4 separate regions of the Homo sapiens genome follow, and all the other regions are linked to region 1. Evidence: promoter capture Hi-C in 16 types of primary human blood cells and fetal thymus (Javierre and others, 2016). All regions are on one chromosome and are shown on one strand. The core of a region is centred on a gene start or on the middle of the fragment in contact, and the rest is flanking DNA. Distances in the headings are between cores, read along the strand shown. Region 1 holds the start of FMN1 (formin 1). Region 2 overlaps RYR3 (ryanodine receptor 3). Region 3 has its middle 9.8 kb from the start of GREM1. Region 4 overlaps FMN1 (formin 1).

The links. The method cuts DNA at HindIII sites, captures the fragments that hold promoters and counts their contacts. A CHiCAGO score of 5 or more calls a contact.
Region 2: a fragment that was not itself captured here is called in contact with the fragment with the promoter of FMN1 in region 1 in 3 of 17 cell types (endothelial precursors, erythroblasts and activated CD4 T cells); the score reaches 9.5 in endothelial precursors.
Region 3: a contact is called between a fragment that was not itself captured here and the fragment with the promoter of FMN1 in region 1, in 2 of 17 cell types (M0 macrophages and M1 macrophages). The highest score is 6.6, in M0 macrophages.
Region 4: a fragment that was not itself captured here is called in contact with the fragment with the promoter of FMN1 in region 1 in 1 of 17 cell types (monocytes); the score reaches 7.0 in monocytes.

Annotation. Positions count from the first base shown.
Region 1 is chr15:33,192,061-33,198,489 of GRCh38, reverse strand. It overlaps FMN1 (formin 1), which reads left to right and starts at 3,776. Exons shown (of 21, transcript NM_001277313.2): 1 at 3,776-3,912; 2 at 4,430-4,581. It overlaps LOC105370759 (a long non-coding RNA gene), which reads right to left and starts at 3,579. Exons shown (of 3, transcript XR_932090.3): 1 at 2,915-3,579. RefSeq lists silencers at 3,474-3,683, 3,458-3,797. The HindIII fragment of the contact is 5,074 bases long and covers 1,600-6,429 here.
Region 2 is chr15:33,695,148-33,701,576 of GRCh38, reverse strand. It overlaps RYR3 (ryanodine receptor 3), which reads right to left. Exons shown (of 104, transcript NM_001036.6): 39 at 5,086-5,359; 40 at 3,581-3,695; 41 at 1,744-1,873; 42 at 497-600. Among named protein-coding and RNA genes, the nearest start is that of CHRM5, 270 kb to the left of the region's middle. The HindIII fragment of the contact is 617 bases long and covers 3,383-3,999 here.
Region 3 is chr15:32,705,017-32,711,445 of GRCh38, reverse strand. No RefSeq gene overlaps it. Among named protein-coding and RNA genes, the nearest start is that of GREM1, 9.8 kb to the left of the region's middle. The HindIII fragment of the contact is 3,162 bases long and covers 2,535-5,696 here.
Region 4 is chr15:32,908,917-32,915,345 of GRCh38, reverse strand. It overlaps FMN1 (formin 1), which reads left to right. Exons shown (of 21, transcript NM_001277313.2): 11 at 4,811-4,872. Among named protein-coding and RNA genes, the nearest start is that of GREM1-AS1, 190 kb to the right of the region's middle. The HindIII fragment of the contact is 1,802 bases long and covers 3,206-5,007 here.

The sequences.
Region 1 (6,429 bases), core at 2,527-5,026:
TATTTACCCCTGGGGACTTCAAACGAGAATGTGTAAATAGTACCTTAAGCCCCAGGTAGGCAAGGACCATTATTTCCGTTTTCTTGGTTCCCTTTGATAAGCAAATTGACCAAATTTAGTAATTTCGAATTCATAGGCATTGTATCATCTACTTCACATGTTCCACAGAGGAATGCATTTCGGTAAGGATTATCAGAGACAGCTTTTTCTCTTAGGCAGGCAGTATGGTATATTGTGAAAATGTGGGCCTTGGCCGGGCTTGGTGGCTCATGCCTGTAATCCCAGCACTTTGGGAGGCTGAGGCGGGCAGATCACTGGGTCAGGAGTTTGAGACCAGCCTGGCCAACATGGTGAAATCCCATCTCTACTAAAAACACAAAAAATTAGCTGGGTAGGGCACCTGTAATCCCAGCTACTCAGGAGGCTGAGGCAGGAGAATCGCTTGAACCCAGGAGGCGGAGGTTGCAGTGAGCCGAGACTGCGCCACTGCACTCCAGCCTGGACAACAGAGACTCCGTCAAAAAAAAAAAAAAAAAAAAGGAAAGAAAGAAAATGTGGGCCTCCAGGTCAGAATGATTTGGGGTCAAGACTTTTTCTTAAACTTGCAACCTCAAGTGAGTCACTATCCTCTCTAGTCCGAGTTTCCTCAGCCTTGAGGTGGTGATAACACCTACCCTGCTGGGTGGTTGTGAAGATTAGTAATTTTGTTGATAAAGTGATCTCTTCAGGTATGGTCCAGATTGAGTGTTCTCAGCTAGGCTGTGCATTTCCATTAGGAAATGGGCTTTATTGAACTGGATATCCCTAGAGTCTAGTACAATAACATATATTAGGCACTTAGTAGCTGTTTATTTTTTCATTTTTTATTTTTTATTTTGAGACAGGATCTAGCTCTGTCACCCAGGCTGCAGTGCGAGGGCTTAAGTGATCCTCCTGCCTCGGCCTCTCGAGTACCTGGGACTACAGGCATGCACCACCACACCCAGCTAATTTTTTAACATTTATTTTTTGTAGAGATAGGGTCTCACTGTGTTGCCCAGTCTGGTCTCAAACTCCTGGGTCCATGCAATCCTCTCGGCCAGTAACTGTTTATTAAGCAAGGATCACATAAATACTCCACTAACAAGCTGGGCATGGTGGCTCACGCCTGTAATCCCAGCACTTTGGGAGGCCGAGGCGGGCAGATTGCTTGAGGTCAGGAGTTCGAGACCAGCCTGGACGACATGGTGAAACCCCATCTCTATTAAAAACACAAAAAATAGCCAGGCATGGTAGTGTATGCCTGTAGTCCCAGCTACTCAGGAGGCTGAGGCAGGAGAATCACTTGAACCTGAGAGACAGAGGTTGTAGTGAGCCGAGATTACACCAGTGTACTCCAGCCTGGGTGACAGAGTGAAATTGTCTCAAACAAAACAAAACAAAACAAAACAAAACAAAACAAAACAAAACTCCACTAACTTGTTAATTAGTGTATACCTTTGTATTGATCTATAACCTTTAACTTATTTATATTTTGTCTTTATTAATAGCCTCTTTGGGAAAATATTTTTCTTCTCCTTTCTCTTTAAAACACCTCCTACTCCCTCCCCCTACCAAGCTTAGAGCAAGTACATATTTCCAGGTTTGATTAAAGGCCAGAGTAGGATTTAGGAATTTCTTCAGAACACTGTTGAAACAATGCTGGAATATGACTTTGGATTAACATCCTTTTACCTTTCTAGGACTCAGCTCACACGACCATGATATTATTTTGTGGGTGGACTTTAAAAGATTTCTACATCAATTAAAACCTAGTTTGACTTAAGCCCTGCAAAATTTTACTTCCTTCCCAACAATAGGAAATCACAGCTCCCTTCTATGAGCAAAGTTGACTTGCAATTGCTCCTAACACATGTCAGAGGTGACACTTCACTCTTAAAGGTGCTTCTGAGGCTGCGGTTTCAAGAAGTCAGTAGTGTGAAAACTGGATCCCTATATGACAATTTTCAGGTAAAAAGAAAAAAGCATCAAGGAATTAAGAGTCGTACTGAGGGCTTCTTATTCTTCTAACTGATGATGATGATTTTTAGACAGGAGATATACGGACCTCGTATTGACTCTACTCCTAACTACGAACATGACCCAAGGACAATTACTTGAACTTTGGGAACCTCAGTTTTCTTATCTATAAGTGGAATTTACAAGGGGAAGATATGAGGATTGAAGGAGATAATGTATATGAAGTGCCTATGGAGCCGGGCACAGCACTTCACAACTGTAATCTCGGCATTTTGGGAGGCTGAGAAGGGAAGATCGCTTGAGCTTAGGAGTTTGAGACCAGCTTGGGCAATATGGTGAAACCCTGTCCCTACAAATAAAAAATTAAAAAATTAGCTGGACATGGTGGTGCCCGCCTGTAGTCCCAGGTACTTTGGAGGCTGAGTTGGGAGGATGGCTTTAGCCCACGGGGTTGAGGCTGCAGTGAGCCAAGATCGCACCACTGCACCCCAGCCTGGGTGACAGAGTGAGACCGTGTGTTAAAAAAACAAATAAATAAAGGGCCTATCAGTGTTTGGCTAATATTGTGATTAAGAATAAATCAGAGTTCCAATAAACTATTATTTCTAGAAAAAAAATAGTGAAAAAAATCACCTTAAAAATACCTTCCAAATTTTTTTCCCATTTACTTATTTGAAAACAGAATCTATTCAGGACAAAATTCTATCTTCAAGTACCAAATGGGTGATACAGTTCGCATTTATCCAAAAGCAGATTAAAGACAATGCCTTTTCTTGCCTACCTACTTGGAAAAGATCTCAGTGTCACTCAAATCACATTCCAAATCTCAACGACATTAAGGCCTCAAATCCTCTTAGGAAAGGTTTGAAGGTAGTTCATTTCAGTAATGATTAGACACTTGGGGACAAAACAGTACCTTGGCATCAAGGTCTGTACTGATTCACCAGCACAGAAATAGCAGTAACAAGATCTTCAACTCTGAGGTGTTCAAATAAGCAGACAAACTCCCTCGTGAGGCCCAGGCCTCTTGACATCCGGACTCAGTCTTTCTTTCTCAGATCGCCAAGGGTCTGGCCCATTTCTCAGCCTAAACCTATTTTGCGTTTAATTCAAACCAGTCAAAGTAACTTAACCGCCAGCAGTTAAAAAGCTACTAGGAGGAAGCGTAGGCAGGAGATGGGAGAGGAAAAGGCTCCTGTCAGGGTTTGGGCTTATGTGTGGATTCTTGAATTCTCCTTCTTTGTTCCTTTTAGCACTTACGATCAAGAACGGCTAGGCTGAGGGGGCAGGGGGGCCAGGCCACTGGAGCGAAACGGCCTCTCCGGATCTGGAGGCGTGGGAACCTCGGGAATAGTGGGGAGTTCCAGACCAGTTCCCTTCCCCCATCTGAACAAGTCCAGAGCGTGCGCCTTGAGAGGCGCTCGGAAACAGGGAAGCTGGGGACACGTAGCGAGAGACTGGTTGTCGCCCTGGCTGTCCGTCTTAGACCTAGCTTAGCGACCACCGCCTTCAATCCCTCAGCCCGGATCAGACGGTGCCAAAAGACAGCACTGCTTCCCAGCCTGGCCCAACGGCTCGGCTGCTGATTGGGCACCGCCGCCTCCCGCCCCGCCTCCCCTGCCACCTCGGGCGCCGCTGCACGTTTCCACTGGTCTTCAGCCCTGCCGATCAGTTTACTGCTCACCTCCCCCAAACAGCTCGTCAGGCCGGCGCGTGCTAGGAAGGCGGGGCCTGTGGCCTGTGGGGCGGAGCCTCGGTGGAGGTCGGCGCAGCTGCCCCTTTGGGCTTTGGCTCTGGACTGGAGCGCAGCATCCTTCGAGGCTGCAGCCGCCACGGCTGTTGCCGTAAGCAATCCTCCTGCCTCAGCCTCCCGAGTAGCTGGGACTCGGGACCAGCCTCCCGAGTATTGGTCAGGTAAAGAGAGTCTTGTCTGTTCTGCTGGCCATCTGCCCGTCTCTTCTTCCCGACCAAAGGCTGCCTGCTCCGCCTTCCCCCGTGGCTTTCAGGGTTCTTGGAATGAGGCATCAAGTCTATTTACCCCGCCAGCTTATCTTCCTCCCCTTCTGTGTCGGTTCCTCCAGCTCCCCCACCAAGCTGCTCCCAAGTACGTTGGTGGGCCCTCCGGGTCATCCCAACGCTCCTCACTACAGAACTCCTGTCGTTGACTCTCAGGTCCCAGCCCCCTTGACCCGCCAGTGCAGTCTCATTCCCAGCTTGGCACAGGAAAGGTGGAGGGCGGGAGGGCGGGAGGGCGGGGGACGGAGAGATGCAGAGCTTTTTTTTTTTTTTTTTTTTTTTTTTGAAGCTGGATGTGTTTAGCGCAGAGGGGGAGCACCACAATGGGATTGCATTGGGAACAGAAGCAGCTTCATGACTATGGTTGGCAATGACTAGAAAGGTATCTGTTGCTGCTTTTTGCTTGTGTTTATAGATGACATTTACCATCACCGTTTTCTTCTTCTTTCATCATCATCATCATCACCATTGCCACTACCACCACCTCCAAGGCCACTACCACCACAGCATCTCTGTTCCTCCATCAGAGCTCTTCAAGTTCTGTAAAGGCAGATTCTCTAAAGGCATGTAAGTGCTGACGGATCCCCCAACCCCCTCCCCCACCACCAAATAACGAACAGTGCTCTTGCCCCCTGAGGCCAGAGCCAAGCCCTCATTTAACTCAAGAACAAGTAGCTGGGAGCAGAGTGTGAGCTGGGAGGATTTTCCTTATCCTCATTTGCAATTGAGATTGCCAAAGAAAACCCTTTATTTTAATCATCCACATTTCTGCTTGCTGTCTCCTGGAGAGTTCCATGTTAGCACTCACACACTCCGAATGGGCTGAATGCAGAGCCTGAACCTGTGATATATATGGGGAGTGGCAGTCACTGAGAGGTGAATGTCCAGACCCAATCCTTTAAGAAGACCAGGTGGAGTAGCAGACAACCTGACTTTCTGCTACAGTAGCTCCAGCTGTACTAAAGCATGTTTACTATTCATGTTTGCATATGGGACATGTGCCATCATCTGCTATGCCCCCTTGCGTGTGTATTGGCAGGGGGGCGGAGGGGCGCATCTAAATTCCTAGGAGAGAGAATTATATTCTGTTCTCTACACCAGGTAGCATCTTATAGGCACACCAATGGGATTCAACAGCCGTTGCTTAGCTGTTTCTAGGGCTTACTGCAAATCTCTTGGATCACAGACTTATTAACCCTTTTTTGGGAGGGAAAACAGTATAGCTGAGAATTGCATACCAGATTAACTGTCGTTGTGGAAGATGTTGCTTCCACAATGAATCAATGAGGTCTCGGGTCTTCTTGATCAGATATCTAAACACTAGTCTCCTTTCTCTCAACTGTGTTACAGTCCAGGAGCAGGACCAATGAATAGTTAGACATATTGCAGGAACAAAGAAGCAATGGCCTCAATGGAGGGAAACAATGGAGAAGAGTAGTGAGACAGTATATTGTAATGGCTAAACTCATAAACCTGTCAGACATAGGTTCAAATCCTGGACCAGCCACTGACTAGCTCAGTGATTTTTGCAAGTTGCTTGCCTCTTTAATTTTAATTTCTCGTCTGTAAAATAGGGATAATACTACCTGTCTCTTAGGAGAAGGTGTGAGGATTAAACGAGATAATATAGGTAAAATACTCAGTAGTTTCTGGCACATAAGTGGGGAATTTATAGTAACTGCTATTAATAATACTAGTCAAGAAGGATAATAAAGGCCAGTCTCGTTCCTAAAAATTATGCATTTTTTTCCATTGTCTTTATCCTTTTTAGGTGTCAGAGCTGATGCAAATGGGGTATGGTAGTCTTCAGGTTCCTTATAGCACTACATCTTAGAGGGGTGCCACTATTGAAGCCACCTGTGTTTGGACAGGCATTTCTCTCACCAGCCTTCACAAGTACTTAGCCGATTCTTAGTTGAGATACGTTAAAGATGCAGCTTTAGAGAAGATTTCCAGGCCTCTGGCCCTATTCTAGACTGCTTCTTTCTCACTGAGTGTTCAATGCATTGACTGTGATTGATGAAGCCTTTGTCACAGGCTTAACCCTGCCTAGACCAAATGCTTTGGCCAAGGGAATGGGGTCCCATAGGACCTATGATTGTCTAAGGGTAGGTCTCATATCCTGGTCATCCTCCCTTTCCAGACATAAAATTGGTGGAGCTGTTCCCAGAGGAAGAGGAATGGGGACAGACTGGAACTTGATGTGATGATGGTAAATATCCTTGATAGAAAATTGAGAAATGCTTCTCTCCTATCTCATATACCATGCCTCAAAGTCTAGTTTTACGTTAAAGTTTTGGATTCATGCACACCATCCCAAGCTGTGGTGTGCTTTAGATGATCTTGCCTTTAATGGTTTTCTTATTAAAACTTTATTCGTATCAGTGTAAAAGTTCATAATGGATATTTCATATC
Region 2 (6,429 bases), core at 2,442-4,941, 500 kb before region 1:
ATTTAAAGAAAGGGATGGGGAAAAGACGTAGTGAGGCCGCCTCAACCAGCTCCACCACCAGGAGCTTCATCCACACTCCCAGCAGAGGGCAGCTCAGTTTGTCTCAGTTACACATGGAAAGGACACTGATTATACAGTATTCTGCCATGTCTCTTCCTTCCATAGGTAGATTTATAAATCTGTAAATTACGCAGAACTTTATTAGGAACCACCGGCATCTGGTAATGTTCCATGTAGACCAACGAGGCTGGGCTTCCACACACGAAGAACACAAATGTCCACATGTCTCTGAAGTTGGCTACCTGTGTTCACAGGAGATCCCTTGGTCATAATCGTTGTGCTGCTACCGGTTACTCACATTCTTTCACACTTTCCCTACAAGCCCACCAAGATGACGATACAGTGACAGAGACTCCATCCGTGGTCTGCTTATCCTTAGCTTAGCTGCACTACAGGCCGAAGAGAACACCACACTGCCACCCCAAGGGCCGGTTACCTTCTCGAGGTCTGGTTCCTCTAAGCTCAGCGCTAACTCATTGTTGTCCATCACAGAGGAAGCTGCCACATCCAGCGGGGTGGATCCCCTCATCGACGGGGAGGCTGAGGGAGGAGGGGAGAATTAGCAAGAAAAGGACAGAGGAAGACACTCAGTGCTGAGCTGAGACTGCAGTGCACGTAAGCGGACAGGAGAGGGCAGCAAACACACTGAAACCTGGCTTACATGACCGTTCTCCAATGGGACAGTCCGCTTGCATTAAGAACAGCTCTATTAGCTATCCTTCCTCCCCACATTCATTGCCGTGAATACGAATTAATACAAAATCGGTTCACACTACCAACCGGGACCATGTATTTCCAAGTGCTTTTCTAACACAAAACTTCTTGAGGCCCCCATATCAGATGCCACTCGACCAACTAAGCCCAGTGGAACCTGTATATTTCTGGGGCTACCACCTAGAGTTTAAAAATAGCATCAAACAGCATTAGCTCATATAGTTTCACCAGGTCACCAATGTTGTTTTTGACTTGTTTGTTTGGTTCTCAGGCTAGAATTAAGAAAAACTTCAGGTGGCATTTTACAAAAAGGTTAGTAGCCTGAGGTTGCATTTGAGAAATAAAAACCCGTGAAACTTCAGTTTTCAAGTGCAAGTATTTGTGTATTACACACATTCATTTCGTTTATACCCAGAACAGTGAGTAAGGCATATGCAGTGACTTGCTTTTCTAGTGGTAGTGGTGGATTTACACTGTTTATCCACGATTGCTCTTGGCCAGTCTGCCTCCCCGCTAAGGAAAGCACTTGCTGGGAGGTTGATGGACAGGTATGCAGCCTGCAGCCAGCCTGCCAAGACGAGATCCGATCCATGACCTTGGTCTCATCAGCACTGCTCCCTGGTCAGTTGAGTGGGCTGGGAAGAGCTGTGCCCCCAGACTATACCTGCAATCCCAGGGGCATTTTGTAAACCATGGGCCACTGGTCCCAAGAGAGATGAGGTAAAACTGTACGACTATGCCAACACTAAACTGTCACCAATCTTGGCTGGTAGCAACATCTCTACTTCTGTTGGAGAACGTTCTTGTGGCATCGTTACTTCAATTGTTTTAAATCAGGCAGAGTCTCTTCTAGTATTTACAAATATCACAGCGTGCATGTGGCTCCTTTCCCTGTATTTTCCTAAGTGGTCAAAAGGGGGAGTGTAACCTTCGAGTTTGGATGTGGAAGTTACAAGAAGACTTACGCACCTAGGCCAACACTGCTATTCTCCAGAAGATAACTCAGATGCTCAAACATGGCCTTCTGATTTTGCCGGCTAATTCGACAGAAATAGCAAAGGAAACGGCAGCAGCTAGCAACCATCTTTGGAAATGCAATCTGTAGGGAGAAGTAGAAAGTGTCAGACAAAAGAATCTATCATGAGGCCTTTCTGAAAACTCTGACCTCAGAGTCTTAAGTGGGTAAAGTGTGAACACTTGGAAAAATGAACTTTCTCCTTCCATTTTTTTTCTCAAGACTTATTCATAGGAGTTATAGTTCCTGAAATATCTTTCCTCCAAGAGAAATAGATGTCAAACAAGAATCCCAATCATCCTCGGAAGTCATGTGAAATTGCATGACCTTCTACCAGGCTATTGTTTCCAAGTAGGAAGGGAGTGGACAGAATTCAGAGACAGAGAGAGATGAGAGAGAGAGAGAGGAGAGAGAGTGAGTGAGATGAGAGAGAGAGGAGAGACAGAGAGGAGAGAAAGTGAGGAGAGAAAGTGAGGAAAGAGTGAGGAGAGAAAGAGGAGAGAGTGAGGAGGGGGGAGAGAGAGAAAGGGGGGGAGAGAGAGAGAGAGAGACAGACAGACAGACAGACAGACACAGGTGATCGTAGACACATAAGGCCCACCAGTATATCAAAGCCCAAGTGCCCTGGGTCAAGGCTGGCCTCTACAGTTACGCAAGTCTGAAAGGCATCGCTCTCTGAGTCTTCCCTGACTACTTTTGTCATTGATAATTGCTCTTCTATGGGATTCCATAGCACTTGTAATTTGATTCATGCAGTCTAGCATGAAGATGCCATCTTACATTACTGTTGATTGTACTTGGCTTTTCTACTTAACAAAGTAACCAGCATCTCTAGGTTGGGCCAAATCTTAGTTTTGATCCTACAGTGCTCAATAAATGGTGCCAGTGTTAACCTTGCTCGGGATCCTAAGACAACCTTGATTTCCTCCTTTAATATCACAGAGGATGCTCTAAGCAATAAGGTTCAGAAACTTGTAGTCTATCTGCTCGCTGAGGCATCCAGACATGTGCTCAGGGATCTTCTGGAGAGATTTCACTTTCCCAAGAGATCAGAAGGAAGCCCATGAGGAACGTGACCCTGGCTTCTGTTCCTTCTACACACCCACCCCCTCCCCAGTAGCACTGATGAAACTGCACCAGAAATCATCCCTTCCTAGGACCCTGGCACTCTGGAATTTCCAACATTTGAAGCCATACCCGATCTACTGCCTGTGGAAGCAGTTTAACCGTGAGGAGGTCCCCAGCCCAGCTGGGATAAATGTCCAGTTGTGTCCTATCCCCACAACTCTCCCCTTAGCAACAGGAGCTCCCCCTGATGCGGGCTCCTTATGAGGGAGCTGGCAAGGAAACCTGGCTTCTTCAGGAGTTCGGTTGACAGAGGAAACATCAACACTTCTGGGGAAACACTGCCAGGATCACTATTGAGATCTTGTTCTCCTTTAGAACAGCCTTCTCCTGACTCAGCACAAAACACACCAGGCTCCTAAGTGGAAGTGAGTGATTCCATCTTGGAAAGAGCAGGGCTGCCGAATACGGGAAGTAAACTTAGCAACTGAATAGCCCAGTGGGATTAATGAAGAAAGTCTCCAAGCTTCAAGAGCTCTTACACAATGGGATTCCGTCCAGCAGCATTATCCCATCGCTTGGCTCCTTCTTGGCACTGTGCCTATCCCTTCCTCTCCCTGGAAGAGAAACTGAGGCAAGGGACACCAGCCACGTGGCTCTGAACAAGTCACCTCGTGCTCCTGCCTCAAGGGACAAGTTCTGGCTAGGTTCTCCTTTTAGCATTACCTGAGATTTCTCTGTACCCAACACGTTCACCATCACCTCCATCACCGTCTCGTGCATGCCCAGGACTCTCATGAGGTTGGGATGCTGGTAAAACACCTTGTTGTTCATTATGTCTCTAGGATAAGGATCAGAGAGAGTCTTCAGCACCTGCTTATTTATATGCTATGAAAATTCAGGGATGAGAACACACAAACACACGAGAGGGCAAAATAATATGAAAGTAACAGGCTGAAAAGATAATAAGAAAGCACTAGTTCAGCTGGAATATATGTGGAGGGCCATTTTAGCTGACTGAAATATTCTGTGCTCCTCTATTTCTAAGTACTTGCTTTTTCTCTTTGAAACATTTCTTTCTGATGACCTATTAAACATCCCTTGTTTTATTTTTTCTTGTAATAATTTTAGATATCAATGAAGCTTTTGGACAATAGTCTTTAAAAACTCACGACATTAAGATGTAAGAACAATTACATCTTTAAGTCATCCAATATAAATTCACAGAGTAAAGCTGCATGCAAATCAAAATACAGAAACAGCCTGGTAATTTGCTGTGTACTCCCTTGCTGGGTGGTTACTTTCTGGCTGCCCATTCCCCTTCTCTTGAGGGTTGCAGGAAACACCACCTCCAATTGCCAGTTTTTACTTCTGCTATGTCTACTACGAAGGCTGGGGAGAGAATAATTATCTAACTGTATTGTCTTCCCATAAAAGTCGCTTCATTTATGTAAGATTTCTCTTTGGAAATGAGTTTGACGAATGAGTGCATTTCCCTCCAAGGATCCTGAAGGTCCCTTTCCTGCACCTTGGTGATGCTCCTTTGGTATGCTGGCTCAAGGGTGGTAGGATGAAAAGTTAGGTAGGAGGTTGTCTGTAGGTCTAGTTCTTGATTCTAATAAAGTAAAACTGTAGGCTGGTTAGTGAATCTTTTTGGGCCTTGGTGTTCTCATCTGCAAAACAGAAGTGCTACCCTACGTGATTATAGGAAACCCTTTTGATGTCTAAAATGCTATGAATTTTTTTTGACTACATGGCTTCTAAGGGAGAGCCATGAGCTACTGTTAAGGGGAAAGTTATCTCAATGAACTAACAAAAACGACTCTAGGTTAGTCCTGAGAAAAGGGAGAGATCAGGTGGCAATTTTTCAGAGGGAAGTTTCGGAAGATTTCGAGTCAAAAGCTCAGGTGCTCAGATCATTTCTGTCTTGGGTTGAACACACCGTCCCTTCCTCCAGATGTTTTCATGGGCTCCCTGGGGCTATTTTCAAAAGATTAAAATCAAGTAACTGCTTTTCCCCAAGACTCCTCCATACTTTTAGCAATGCCTTTCACTGTGAGTAGTTGGGTCTCTCAGGTTGCAAAGGATATGACTCCATGAGGAGTGAAATTGGAATCAGTTCACACAAAGATTTAATATGATTTGATTCCACTATATCTCTATATCAAGGTAAGTCAGTTTTCCCACTTAAAGCTCCTAGAGAGAACAGCACGTAACCGTGAATCACCTACCCCAGCCCATTGATCATGAGCAACTCCTCTTCCTTGCCCATCCTGACACTGAGGAGGGAGCGGATTTGGCCCAGGGCAGCCAGCAGGTTGATGGTGTCGCTTACAGAGGTGTGGCTGATGGTGTAGGTCTTCCGCAGCGCCTGCAGCAGCTCCCCAATGCTGTCATACTGCCTCCGGAGGAGGTTGAACATCATTCGGACCAGCTCTGAATCCTGGATCTGGTCCTCCTGGGCCCAGCAGATCATCGTCTGTGAGATGAGTTCCTTCAATGTTGCTGGAAGGACAACAGGAGGGAGCAGGACTGTGGCTGTCATGGCTCAGGGAGAGCTGGGTGTTTCAGCCACTTCATGCAAATAGAAGACACATCATTGGTTGAGGTTACAAAATTCTTATTATAGGCAATGTGCAGTGGCTCATGCCTATAATCCTAGCAATTTGGGAGGCTGAGGCTGAAGGATTTCTTGAGCCTAGCAGTTTGAGACCAGCCTGGGCCACAAAGCGAGACCCTGTTGCTACCAAAAAAAAAAAAAAAAAAAAAAAAAAAGCTGGGTGTGGTTGCACACGCCTGTAGTCAGCTGCTTGGGAGGCTGAGGTGGGAGGACTGCTTGAGCCTTGGAGGTTGAGGGTGCGGTAAGCCACCACTGCATCACTGCACTGCAGCCTGGGCAACAGAGTGAGACTCTGTCTCAAAAAAAAAAATTTTTTTTTTGTATTTTAAGGGTGGGTTATGACATGCACAGAAGTAGAATATATCATCAAAAGACAAATAAACCGGCTATATAACAATAAAAGAATATCCCAATTATGAGTTGAGGGTGCTAACTATTCTATTTTGATTAAACAATACTTGCATCCACACTGGGCTGAGAGAACAGATCTAAAGGCTTTACAACGGGACATCTGAGCATCATCCTAAAGTCTGAACAGCCTTTTTTTGCACTGGATCTTTGGCAAGAGTCAGCTGACACTGCATCTTGGACTCCTCTCATAAGCATCAAGAGAAAAAAACCACAGTGACTTTGAATTCAGAATTTATTGGGGCTCATACTGGTTTTACGGAAATTTTACTGTCTATACAAGTAAAGGAAAGATCACTGAACTGGGACTCAAAACAGCTGTGGAACCTTCAGAGGTTATACTAAAAAGCCCCTGAAAATTGCTGATTGGCATTGGCATAGGAGGTAAAGGAGGAAGGGGACCTGTTGGAATGGCCGGGAAGGCACTGCTTACCCCTTCCCTTACCATCCACACTTCCAGAAGATGACAGAGGTGAGACATGCTGCTCTTAAATCACAAATGCATCCTACCCTGGCACTGCATATCACAGTCCTACAAGGTATGGAT
Region 3 (6,429 bases), core at 2,866-5,365, 490 kb after region 1:
TAAAGTGGCCTTTTATTAATTACTTAATGTGTACCAAACACGAGGCTTTATATGCATTATCTAATTTAATTACCTTAACACTCTTACGAAATTGCTACTATTGTTTGTTCTGTTTTAAAGATGAGAAAGCTGATGTCTAGAGAGGTTGTATGACTGTCTCAAGGGCACACAGCTATATGAAGCAGTGACAGCTGCTGACCCCTGAGCCCCATACACTGAGCTTCTACCCTCTATACTGTGAACAAGAGTCTACACCATACACTGTTAGAACTGGTATTCAAATACCACTATTTTTTCATGAAAGAAAACTATTCCTAAGTGCGAAATGACTTAAATAATTTGATAGTTGGTATTGTCAAAACATTTGGTTGTGTAAAATATGAACACACATATGAGGAATATGGGTTTCGATATCACATGAGTTTACTCATAAAGAATGCTGAACACATGGCCATTGAAAACCCATATGCCACCGGGCACAGTGGCTCACGCCTGTAATCCCAGCACTTTGGGAGTCCAAGGCAGGTGGATCACGAGGTCAGGAGATCGAGACCATCCTGGCTAACACGGTGAAACCCCGTCTCTACTAAAAATACAAAAAATTAGCTGGGCGTGGTGGCGGGCGCCTGTAGTCCCAGCTACTCGGGAGGCTGAGGCAGGAGAATGGCATGAAGCCGGGAGGTGGAGTTTGCAGTGAGCCGAGATTGCGCCACTGCGCTCCAGCCTGGGTGACAGAACGAGACTCCATCTCAAAAAAAAAAAAGAAAGAAAAAAAAAGAAAAGAAAAAGAAAAAAAGAAAACCCATATGGCCTGTCTTGAGGTTTCCTACAAAAACCAAAGCCTGCCTTATTGCCATTAGTTATTAATGACTGTATCAGTCTCTCTCTGTCTATCTCTCTCTCTCTCTGTCTGTCTGTCTGTCTCTCTCTCTCTCTATATATATATATACATTTTTTTTTTTTTTTGAGAGGGAGCCTCACTCTGTCACCCAGGCTGGAGTGTATTGGCACAATCTCAGCTCACTGCAACCTCTGCCTCCTTGGTTCAAGCGATTCTCCTGCCTTAGCCTCCTGAGTAGCTGGGACTACAGGCACTCGCCACCACGCCCTGCTAATTTTTTTTTGGTAGTTTTAGTGGAGACAAGGTTTTGCCATGTTGACCGCGGCTTGTCTCGAACTCCTGACCTCAAGAGATCCGCCTGCCTCAACCACCCAAAGTGCTGGAATTACAGGCATGAGCCCCTGCACCTAACCTGTATCAGTCTACCTTTAAAATTAGGAGCTTATAAGTAAGTTCAGTATTTTGGGCTTCTTCTCAAGGTAGAGAAGGATGGAGCTAAAGGTGGAAAGCAAATTCAATACCTGCTTTCCCTTCTAAAGATCAATGTGAACTTGTACACCAATTTGCACTTGGCTCACAAAGGGTCCAAATTTAAATCTCTTTTCAATCTTGGTTCCCTCTCCACTCTTCCCTTCGTAGCGTAATAGGTTGGATCATCTGGAATACGATTTCTCATTCCTTTTTAAAAGAAAGATGAAAAATGTAAACTGTGGGCTCCTCACTGCTTATGTCAGAGCAATACATGTGTGCTTTATATAAACTAACCATTTGTCTATTAATGTTTGCAAAGAACTCCGTAGACATGAGGCATTTGGGACACACTCTCTGGAGAAATGTGGTGCCTTTGGAGAGAGGATCAGAGAAGGAAGAAACCAATAGTAAGAGAAATTCCTTTATATGCACATGTATAATAAAATGTGAAAGAAAATCTACCAGTTGAGCATCGAGCTGCATTTTCCCTTAGGTTGAAAGTTAGCCAGTAGGAAGGAAACCTTTTCAAGGAGACTAGGTAACCTTGCCTGCAGTGTTTGTTTCTACACTCTGTTTTACTTGTTCGTGTGACAGAGAAAGAAAACAAAGCTGATGGACTTTGGACTGGACAATGTAGCAGTGTGTCCCCAGATACCAGCTTCCAGATGATCTCTCTTGGGTCTCCCAGATGGAGCAGAGGGTTTCTGGTGACTCTGGTCACTGCATCAGCCAGAGCAGACAGGATCTTAGAAGCTCCCAGGTGCACATATCTGCCTTTCCACGTCGCCACGATTTTGTAGGAAAGTGGCTGAGCATGGGATAGGCCCTTAAAGACTGTAAAGTGTGATTCTTGGTCATGTGGACATTAAGCCAAAGTAGAACAACTTTCTGAAAAAAAAAAATCGTAATGATTTTTGCAGTGCTACTCTGCTAGCCAGAGTGATCCATGGATGTCTGTGGAATAATTAGGATGTACTTCCCCTAGAGAAATGTATGTGCTGGTCTCTTGGCACGAGCAACTCCAGAAAGTTTACCTAGCCAACACCTCAGGACACTAGCCAGAACCCCTCGTTATGTTTCCACTCTTCCAACGAAGGAAGAAAGAAAAAAGGGAAGGAAGGGAGGGAAGGAGGGAAAGAGGGAGGGAGGGTATTGGTTCTTTTCAATAAGAAAGACAAATTATTTCAGATAACAGCAGCTTCCCTTAAATGGTATTTAAGCTTTAACTCTATAGTCCTAAATATCTATTTTAACAGCAGTGATTACTATGTGAGCTCTGCACTGTCAATCTAGAGAAAAGAATCTTGCCACTAAGAAGAATTTCAAGGTGAGAGTTCGCTTTTAATACGCACATATAACACAGACATTCAATTGCACACATGTAGAAAAGAACATGAGAGGAGTGCACAGCTGAGTAGCAAGCATCCACTCCTGCCCCTGGTGTTCAGTGCCAGCCTGATGGTCTCCAGCTAATGTTCTCTGTGCACATGCAACATTTGAGCCCAGCAGGAGCTGAGCACATACCACAGACCACCATGTTCACACGTTTGCTCTTGCTCCTCCCTCCCCTCAGAAGTTCCCACCCTTCTCTCTTCTGGTTGAATTCCTACTCTGACCTCAAGCCTCCTTCTCAGAGCCTTCTGCCTTTTCTATTATTCTTGTCATATTTTTCCTTTATTGTAGTTACATGTATGCTGGACACATCTTCTTCAATGAAATGTAGACTCCTTGCATGGAGAAAGTGTCTCCTTCCTCCTCTTTGAGTCCCTGTGGCCCTAGCACAGGCTGAGTTGAATCGTAACTAAAGTGCTCCAGGTCTCCTCATCATTTCCCCTGCTGTCTTCTATTTTTATCCCGTCACCTGTAGGAACTGTGTCGGAAGAACTAACTGCTAGAGTTTCTCCAAAGTGTCGCGGCCAGTGGCAGTCCAGTAGCTGTCTTGAGTCCATCCTGACTCTTCGCGGCCCATCCCCAAGTCCAGGTCACGGTCATTTCTCACCTAAAAGGTTGCAATTGCTTCTTTATTGCTCTCCCCACTTTCACCGATGCTGACCCAAAGCCACTGGACACTTCTTCTTTTTTGTTTTTTGCTTTTTTGTTTGTTTTGTTTTGTTTTGTTTTTTAGATGGAGTCTTGCTCTGTCACCAGGCTGGAGTGCAGTGGCGCAACCTCAGCTCTCTGTAACCTCTACCTCCCAGGTTCAAGTGATTCTCCTGCCTCAGCCTCCCGAGTAGCTGGGATTACAGGCGTGTGCCACCACACCCGGCTAATTTTTTTGTATTATTAGTAGAGATGGGATTTCACCATGTGGGCCAAGATGGTCTCAATCTCTTGACCTTGGGATCCACCCTCCTCGGCCTCTCAAAGTGCTGGATTACAGGTGTGAGCCACTGTGCCCAGCCTGGACATTTCTTAACTTATATACTAAGCCATGTCCTTCCTTTGACTAACGCCCTTTCTTCCTGGCTCTTACCAAATTTTTAAATTATGCAATTTGTAGATTTGCTTGGTTTTTGTCTGTTTCCTCCGCGTGCCTGTAAGCTCTGTGGGGGCAAGAACCGTCTTTGTGTGGCTCACTGAATCCCCGGCCTCTACATGGCACTTGGAGTACATAGATGCTCCCAGACCTTTGTTGAATGAATAGATTAAAAGTGCAGCTGTTCTTATTTTCCTTCCTGTTATAACCCTTGCTCTAGCCCCCTTTTTGCCTTGCTTCTGTTTCTGATTTCTCCTCCTTCATTTTTTTTTTTTTTTTTTTTTTGAGACAGGCTCTTACTCTCACCCAGCAGGCTGGCGTGCAGTGGTGAGATCACAGCTCACTGTACCCTTGACCTCCTAGGCTCAAATGACCCGCCCACTTCAGCCTCCCAAGTAGCTGGGACTATAGGCACACACTAATTTTTGTATTTTTCGTAGAGATGGGGTCTCACCATGTTGCCCAGGCTGGTCTCGAACTCCTGGGGGCAAGAGATCCACTCATCTTGGCCTCCCAAAGTGCTGGGATTACAGGCATGAGCCATTGGTGCCTGGCCTGGTTTCTGCATTTTACCTGGAACTCATTGGAGAACTGAAACTCAAGAGCCTCAAAATCTACAACTGAGCCTAGGGGAGCCTCAGTCCTTAGTTTTGTCGTGGAATCAGAGAGCACATTCCTGTGCTCCAGGTGCCCCACCCACTGAATAACAGCGGAGGCAATGATGGCACTGACTCACTCTGGAAACTGCAACTGCACCCCGATAAGTTCTCCCTGTAAAACCAGTCACAAGATGACATTCCTCAGACCCCAAAGAAGTGAGTAAGTTTTATGGCCTGTGTCAGGGTAACATGCACTCTGCTAAAAATAACATGGTAAAATTTCCTAAGAAATAAATAATGCACCATTACTTTGTGTTTCTGGGAAACCTTAAGGATTTGTTGTAGAAAGATATTTTAGTTTTCTTAGCCTGGTGAAAAAGCATGCAAAGGAAAAAGTCATATTGGATAAGAGAAAGAATATTTGGGTATGTGGCCAGGAATGATGCACGTTTTGCCACTTATTTCTTTTACGTTTTAATCTTTTTGGAAACAGAGGCAAGTAACTAGCCAAGTACATTTGAAGGGCATCCATAGTTCCAAATGCCTCTCCCTTTACAATTTATTGATGAAGGACTAAGTAGCTCATCTAATTCATCTTGAGGAGATAGGAAAATGCTTATGGCAACAGCATTTTATCATGGTTGTGAGGCTTCTGAAAACATAATTCCAAACGATAGGAATGGTTTGCAGAGCCATCTGGGAGGAGATGGGCTGATTAGGAATGTCTGGGGCCTTAGAAATAAATTCAGGTGAAGTCGAAGCATGTTTTTCAGATCTGGTAGATTTTTGTGAGACTATTTATGGCTGGGTGTAGTTTAGCAGGCTTCTCGTAGAGCAGTGGAGTCCCTGTGTTCTACAACCTTCCCTCCGGGGCTTTTGTATTCACCCATTCTCACACCATTTCTGGTTGCAATTGTGTGCAATGTTTCCCCAAATTCACTGTGTATCAGAGTCACTGGAGAAACAAAACAAAACAAAAAATTGATCCCCAGAGCTTGCTCTAGACTACTGAATCAGAATTTCCTGGGCCAAGAATCTGTATTTTTACAAAGCTCTCCAGATGATTCTGATAAGCAGCCAGGTTTGACAATCACTGGTGTGGTGGAAAGAATTCTGTTTGCATCTAAGCTCAACCACCAACTACCTAAGCAACTTTAGAGATGGCAACTCTTGGGCTATCAGGAAACAGAGAAAATGATGCCTATGTCACAGGGTTATTGAAGAATTAAAGGAAATTACATATGTGATCTATCCCAATGCAAATTTAGTAGGCTGCGTTAGTTAATACTCTGCTGATGACCTAGAAGCTTAAAAGAGTTTTTTTCTCTAAAAAAGTGTTTAGCTTCCTCTTCTGTGTTTGATTCCTTATGAAACTTGGTTTCCCCTTTCATCAGTCACCAAGGATCAGGCCATATGTAGATGAATCATAATACCATTATGCCATGTGTTCTAAGAGCCTTCCAAGTGCATTGCTGCAAGAAAAGCTCAACATTTAATGTATATTGTTTTTCGATATCTCTTTCCAAATTGCCAGTACAATTTCCATTCCTGGGAAATTACATAGACATGTCTGGATCCAGTTCTTTTATCTTTGCATTTCCAACTGCTCTGTTTTCCTTCTTTCTTCCCATCAAATTCTTATATTTTGACAGTTTTAAGACCAGCTCTTCCTTGATCCTTTCCTTCCTATAATATATTGAATTGAAGTGAGCCCATTTCCCTTAGTGAGCCTTCTCTCCAAACACAAAATACTCTGAAGTTCAGATTCTCCTTCTGTGAGTGGGTTAACATCACACAAAGTTTGTGGTTTCATCCATCATAAACAAGAGTGTTTTACATGAACTCTGTTTCTTGTCTCCCAAGAATCACAGAAAGGTTGGGGCAAAGTGAAATAAATTTTCAGAAAGAAAAGTTACTTATTAAAAATAGCAGTGATAAAAATATGTAGATTGATTTAGTAGGAAGAATTCGTAAATTGTTTTAACTTAAAAGGAAACACTCTTGCAGGCATTCACAATGAATCAGGAGGAAAACACTTTGGC
Region 4 (6,429 bases), core at 2,857-5,356, 280 kb after region 1:
TGACTTAATCGGAGAGCATTCATTGATTCTCTAATACGTTGTTCCAGTATTTTGAGAATAGAATTATCAGGTGTGGATTCTGGCTCTCTAGGAACCTAAACTATATTTGGTGACTAAGACATGGGATTATGTACATGTAAGGCAGTTCTCTTAGGCATCCTAGGACTTGGTAGGCCTTTTTATTTTTCAGACTTCTGGCTGATACCCTAACCTTCCCAGGCCAATATTATTAGAAATAATACAACTAATTTAATCTCCATAAGTTCTAGGCTCAGTATCAATCTCTTGATATTGCTTCTGCTACCTCTGAATTTTCTTTTACTTTTTAGATTTTATTTTTAAGATCCTTCCGTGGAAGAGGAGAAACTTCAGTGGAATACTTGGCATTGGCCCTAAGTTCATCTGTTTATCTACTTCTTTTACCTGTCCTTTCCTCTCTACTCCATTCCTTTCCCAGTCCCTGGGGGACAGATCAGTAGTCATGCTCACCTCTTAGACTCCTCTGCCTGTTTCTGGGGGGATGGTACAAAGCTCTTCCCCTAAACCTAGGCTCAAAGCCTCAGAGTGGTTTCAGGCTAAGTCCCCAGAGCTAGTTAGCAATGTCACTATAATAGTGCTCTGTAGTGTCTTTCTTTTTTGCCCTATCCTTTCTGTCCACACTATTCAAGTTTTTGCTACCTCTTGCCCATTACAATAGATTCTAAATTAGTCTTTTCAAATTTTGACTTTTTGTGTGTGTAATATAATTTTGTCCAATTTACTCCTCCATTCATAACTGCTCAACAGCTCTCTCCTGTATAACAAGTGTATTACAGGTTCATCGTGGCATTCAAAATTCTACAAGGTTTTACCCCAAACTATGTTTGGAGTGTATCTTTCTAGTCCCTTTAATTAAGTCTCTCTTCAAACCAAAATTGAACTACCTGCCATTGCCTAAACATTTTGTGAGCCTATTATCTGCTGCTTCTAGCTGGAATGTTTTGTATCCTTCCAGTTTACGTTCACTGGCACGTATTGCATACTTACAAATTGTCATTGCATGGATGAATTTAGCTTAATTATTGGTGATTAATAGATTAGTGTTTTCAGTGTCTGCCTAAAGCAATATAATAGTTGAACTTTTACTCAACATTTTTCCTAAGGAGATACAGCTATTTAAAACTTTTTTGAATAAGGAAAGATATTTTCCTTATTCATTCCCTAATAATGAGAAAACTCATCTTTGAAGTTAATTATTTTTGTTAGGGAGTATTCAGGCAAGCGGTATAATCTACACCGAGTGTGTGAGTTGGGGGCACAATTATGTAACTGCTGGCCAAACCTTGATTTTTGGACAGGGTCAAATTGGGAAGAAGCAAACAACCATGATTCAGATACATGCCTTATAAGGCTGTGCCCCTTTAGAGGCTCTCTGGTTTCTTTTTAAGACCCTATGTTCTCTTTGTCAAGAAGCTTTTCCTCCCATCAGCAGGACTCAGTCTTCAGGAGTCGTATGGTATAATTATACCCACAAACATCTATGTTATACATGCTACACCCCTGGTACCATGCTGGGAGACAGTTATCAAGATGCTTAAGAAATCAACTGCTGACTGCAAGGCTTTCACAGTCTACTGGGAGAAGGAAACAGTTATGCAACATACCACAGATTCTTAAAGTATACCATCTTCACCTTATGTAAAATATGAGAGAGGTACCATGGCAGAGGAAAAGATTGAGGACTTAATGATGTGAGGGTCAAAGGATGTCCTTCCAGGGCTTTGACCTCTGTGCCATGGAGAGATGAAGAAAGGGAGGAAGCCATGGCATGTTCAGGAATGGGGAAGGACACAGGGTGACTGGAACCCATGGTGCATGGAGAACATGGTAGGAGATGAGTTTGGAAGTGTAATTGAGGCGAGGCAGGGAATGAGCTTAACAACCAGGCCAAGGAGTTTAGACTTCGCCGAGTGTTTAAAGGAAGATATTGGAGGTATGTTAAGCATCACAGTAAAATTTTGAAATCCATGTTTTTAAAAAGTAACCTTGGTACAATGAAGGATGGATTGATGAGAAATATTGAAATTATAGATAAAAATATGATAATACAGACTTGGAGGTACCTGGCATTTCCCTTAAGACACTTGATCCATTATTTTTTGTAATTAGAGTTCTGTGTCATAGACCTTTCCTGTTAATAATGCTTTCTGAAGTTGGGTCTTGAGTGGGGTTTTAAAGGACTGGAAGGGTTTCCTAGTAACCGCGATCAGAAACACCTAAGAATTCGGGAAGGTTGCATTTACAGCACAAATCACTCAGTAGTTGTAGTTTTCTTTCTCTAACTCTTTCCAGATGTTAAAGGGGATAAGGCATTAACAAGCATTAAAACACATTTACAATGTATATATTTGAAATCATGATAGTAATAGCTCATATATACCATTTTGGGCTTATACCATGTTCTACGTGCTATGCTAAGCATATATCTTACCTCACTTAATATTTTCACTAAGTGGTATTAGAGCTGTTTTATAGATATGCTGAAGCTCAGAAAATTTAACATGTCAGGATCACACAATGAGTAAATTTTGCTCTGTCCATGATAGTCACCTTGATTTTTTTTTTTCTATACCTTGAATGTGTTCCTTCAGAAAAAGAAACTTGTCTTTGCAGTTACCTCTCCCTGGGACGTTATTCTCCAAGATAGCCACAAAACTGATCTCTGCAGGTCTTCTCTTAAATGTCACCTCCCAAAGAAGCCTTCCTTGAGCCTTCTGTCTAATGTTGTACATTTCTCTGTTTTACTTTCTTCATAGTAAATTGTTATCTGAAATTATGTATTTACTTGTTTATTTTCTGTCCCCAGACTGGGATATAAATTTCATGAGATTAATTAAGTACTTTGCACTTCTAACTTAAAAATCCACAGTATTTAGAACAGATCCTGTACACATCCAACAAATACTTATTCAAGGGCTGGATGGAGGAATGAATGAATCCATGTCTTCAGAGCCCATGGTTGTTCTCAGTCCCAACCTCTCTGGGTGTTATTTTTCTGCTACTGAACACACTGGAAGGGGCACAGCTGACAATACCATCTGAGGAACTGTGTGCCTGGGCCCCAGACTGATTAACTTTTAAAAACTGAGTATTTACTTACTAGGAAAAGAAACTCACAGGTCATTCTCTTTCTCATTAGTTAAGATTATTTGATTATATCTAAGCTTGTAATATATAGTTACCCAGGATGCATGATTAGTTAACATGTAAACATTTTTGGTAGATTATTGTTTAGAATTTGACCTTTTCTTATGCGCTCATGTTGGTTGATTTTTGTGAGAGAATACTGAGATTTACATAAAATAGACATTGTTTCTGGCTATTTTGGTTTTCAACGCACTAGACATTTAAAAATGCCTGTTGTGTCTGACAAATTAGTGGATTTATGTGATCTCCACACACAAAATAACAGTCTTGAGAGGACAAATCCTTTCTTTCTGTCCTTAAACTGCATTTTTCTTTACTGGTTTCACATTGGCCTTTGTGGATGTGTGATGTTCCTTTGTCTTGGTGGAATCTGAGGTGACTTACTTTGACTCTAGCATATTAACCTCCTCTTTTCTCTCTGTTCCATGTATCTAGGAATAGCTTGCTGATTAACCCCTAAGTTTGAGAAGGTGGCCTGCAAAGGAATTTTAAGTACATTTCTTGCTGTTCTGTGAGGTTCCATGATCTTAGCTCAGTTAATTTTAGCTTTGTTAAAATTGTATGAAAGGGTTCATGTGATTCTAAACCACAGAAGAAGCAAAATACCTCAAAAACAACCTGCCCCTTACCTTGGTCCCCACCTTCCCAAAAACCATGGTGTAATGCAAATGAACAGAATAAATAGTTGACGAGCAAAATTTTAAGGCATTCTAAGTATCACTGGTTGGTTTAATAAAATTAATTAGCCTGCCACGGAGAAAATTTACTAGCGTGCTGGTTAATTTCACAATGTAAAGTCAGGGAAGGGAGGTAGGGTTGAGGGAACAAACCTTATTAGTTTTGAATAATTATTTAAAGATGTGGACCTGCTTATTTCAAACACTTCGATAGCCAAATCCATTAAGGATTTTAAGTCTCAATTTTTGCATCCCAGTATCTATGGGAAGGTACCTCTCTAGATGAAATCATAAGCATATTAGTTAACGGCTAAATTAATCTTAAATAATACAGAACAAGTAGAATCCTAATAAAGCCATGGGAATGAGAGCCTGCCTGAAGACTGGCTCATGGGAGGTTTCCATAATCTTAATTTGCTATTGATGCAATTATTGTTTTTTCTTGTCTTTTTAATCCAAACAAGATGTTGGCAGTGGCCACGGAAAGGTGCCTGAAATCACATGCCTGAATTCATTTAATTTGCCAACATTGTCTTTTTTCTCTCTTTCTTTCTGGTAATGGGCAAGAGTCAGTTCTGGTGCATTAGGTACTAAATCTCTTCAATTACCATCGGGAAGAAAGATTTAAAATTGTGCTTCAAACCTACAAACTGATTTAGTTTTAAAGCACAAACACTTCTCCTGTGGAGCCTAAATTAAACTGCAGAAAGGACTCAGAGCCTGAGGAATTAAACAAGGCAGAGCCAAGGCTCAGGCCAATGATAGGAACCATTTTGGTTTCTTTCATTTGAGACCCCTGGTGCGAAAGGAAGGGGAGCAGAGAGGCACAGCTTGTGTAAGAAAACGCAATACTCTGTTAATTGCTTGGAAGCTGGATGTGGAGTAAACATTGGTGCAGGGGACCTAATCAAATCCCTTATCCTCTTTTCTTTTTGGGTGCTTGGCAGCCATTTTCAATGTGGATGACTCCGTGGTTGATCTGGAGACCCTGGCAGCCTTATATGAAAACGTGAGTGTCAAAGACTTACAGAGCTAGTATTTCCATATTTATCTTCTACCTGAGAAATGACTGAGCTGTTCATGTTCTTTGGTAGTAAGGGTTTTGACGTGGCCTGGAAGAGATTAAGGCATAGAAACACAAGCTTGAATGGGAGTGGATGTGAGAAGCACTAGATTCCTGACTCCCACTGTGGTATCTGGGCTAGCAGATCTCATTGCACACTTGCAAGGCAGGGCATCTCAGGTGGACACCATTTACGTGCCCTGGAACCCAGTCCTGTCACTTGCTGGCCAAGTGAATGAAGGTAAGCTGCCTACTGAAATGATAGCGTGCACTGGTGTCTACTTCTGAAGAATGGGACTGCTAATACCAGCTTGGATGATTACTCTTAGTCCAAATGAGTTGATGATATTGAATGTGGGAAGGTGTGTAGAATGGTAGGTATGTGTTTTGGATTTAGAATGAGACAGTCTTAGGTTTGAGGTCCAGCTGTGTCTACCATTGCCTGCTAAGTGACCTTGGGCTAGTTACTTAAACTTCTTAATCCCGTTGTGATCATCAGTATAGCGGGGATTATAGTAGGCTCTGATTTTTTTTTTTTAGTCAAATGAGGATTTAATATATGTAGCAGTAGCAATGTATTTTGAAAGTCAACAGGACTGTACACATATAAGGTTTTTGATTTGGGTTTTAAGTGGACATAACCAGCAGAATTGTCAGGCTCTCTTGAGAAGACAACACAGGAGAGTCAGAATTCCCATGATTGTTCATTGTTTTGGTTCACTGACTGTTAGGCTACAAAAACATAGATTGAACCACATTCTCTTAAGTAATGGTATTTCCCAGGAAGCTGTCTAGGGCTCTATAGTGTACTGTGGTCACCAGTTCAAAAGATGATTCGTTTCATATTTATGTCCCCTGGGACCTTAAGTTTCTTACAGAAGATTTCCATAGTCTAATAGTCTAGGCTTGGTGGCATCACCAATTCCTTGCTCATTTTCACATCTTTATATGTATCAGGAGCTACTTAGTACAAGTGGGTCGGAACTTCTCACGTTTCCACTAGTAAAGCTTTCGTTAATAAACCAGAAAGTACACAAATACCAGGCCATTGGGAGCTAATTATGCACTTGAATACTTGGAGGTCAGCAAGGTATAGAGGCAGAAAGAGGGAGTTCCAAGTCTGAAGCTCTTTAACAGTTGCTTAGTACAAGCCTCAGTGGAATAATCTGTAAAATGAGGATACAGTGGTTCATGTTAAAGAACTTTGTCAAAGGCAGTACCTTCCAGATGCTTTGTGTTGTTACCATGAGCTCAGGACTAAGCACATGGTTGCCGCTTGTTAGCTCACAGTAGAGATAAGCTTCATTCAACTGAAATAGTTGGATAAATTGAGAAAGTAAGTGACTCAATGCCAAAATAAGTGGTACAGACAATGAGTGCTTACGAAATTTGGAAAAAGGGACGTTGTTGACTAGAAATGAAAGAGCTGCGAGTTCATATAATTTAGGGCTGTTCTAAGAGTAAGGAAACAAATTCTAAGAACAATATTCCCCCAGCCTCCTT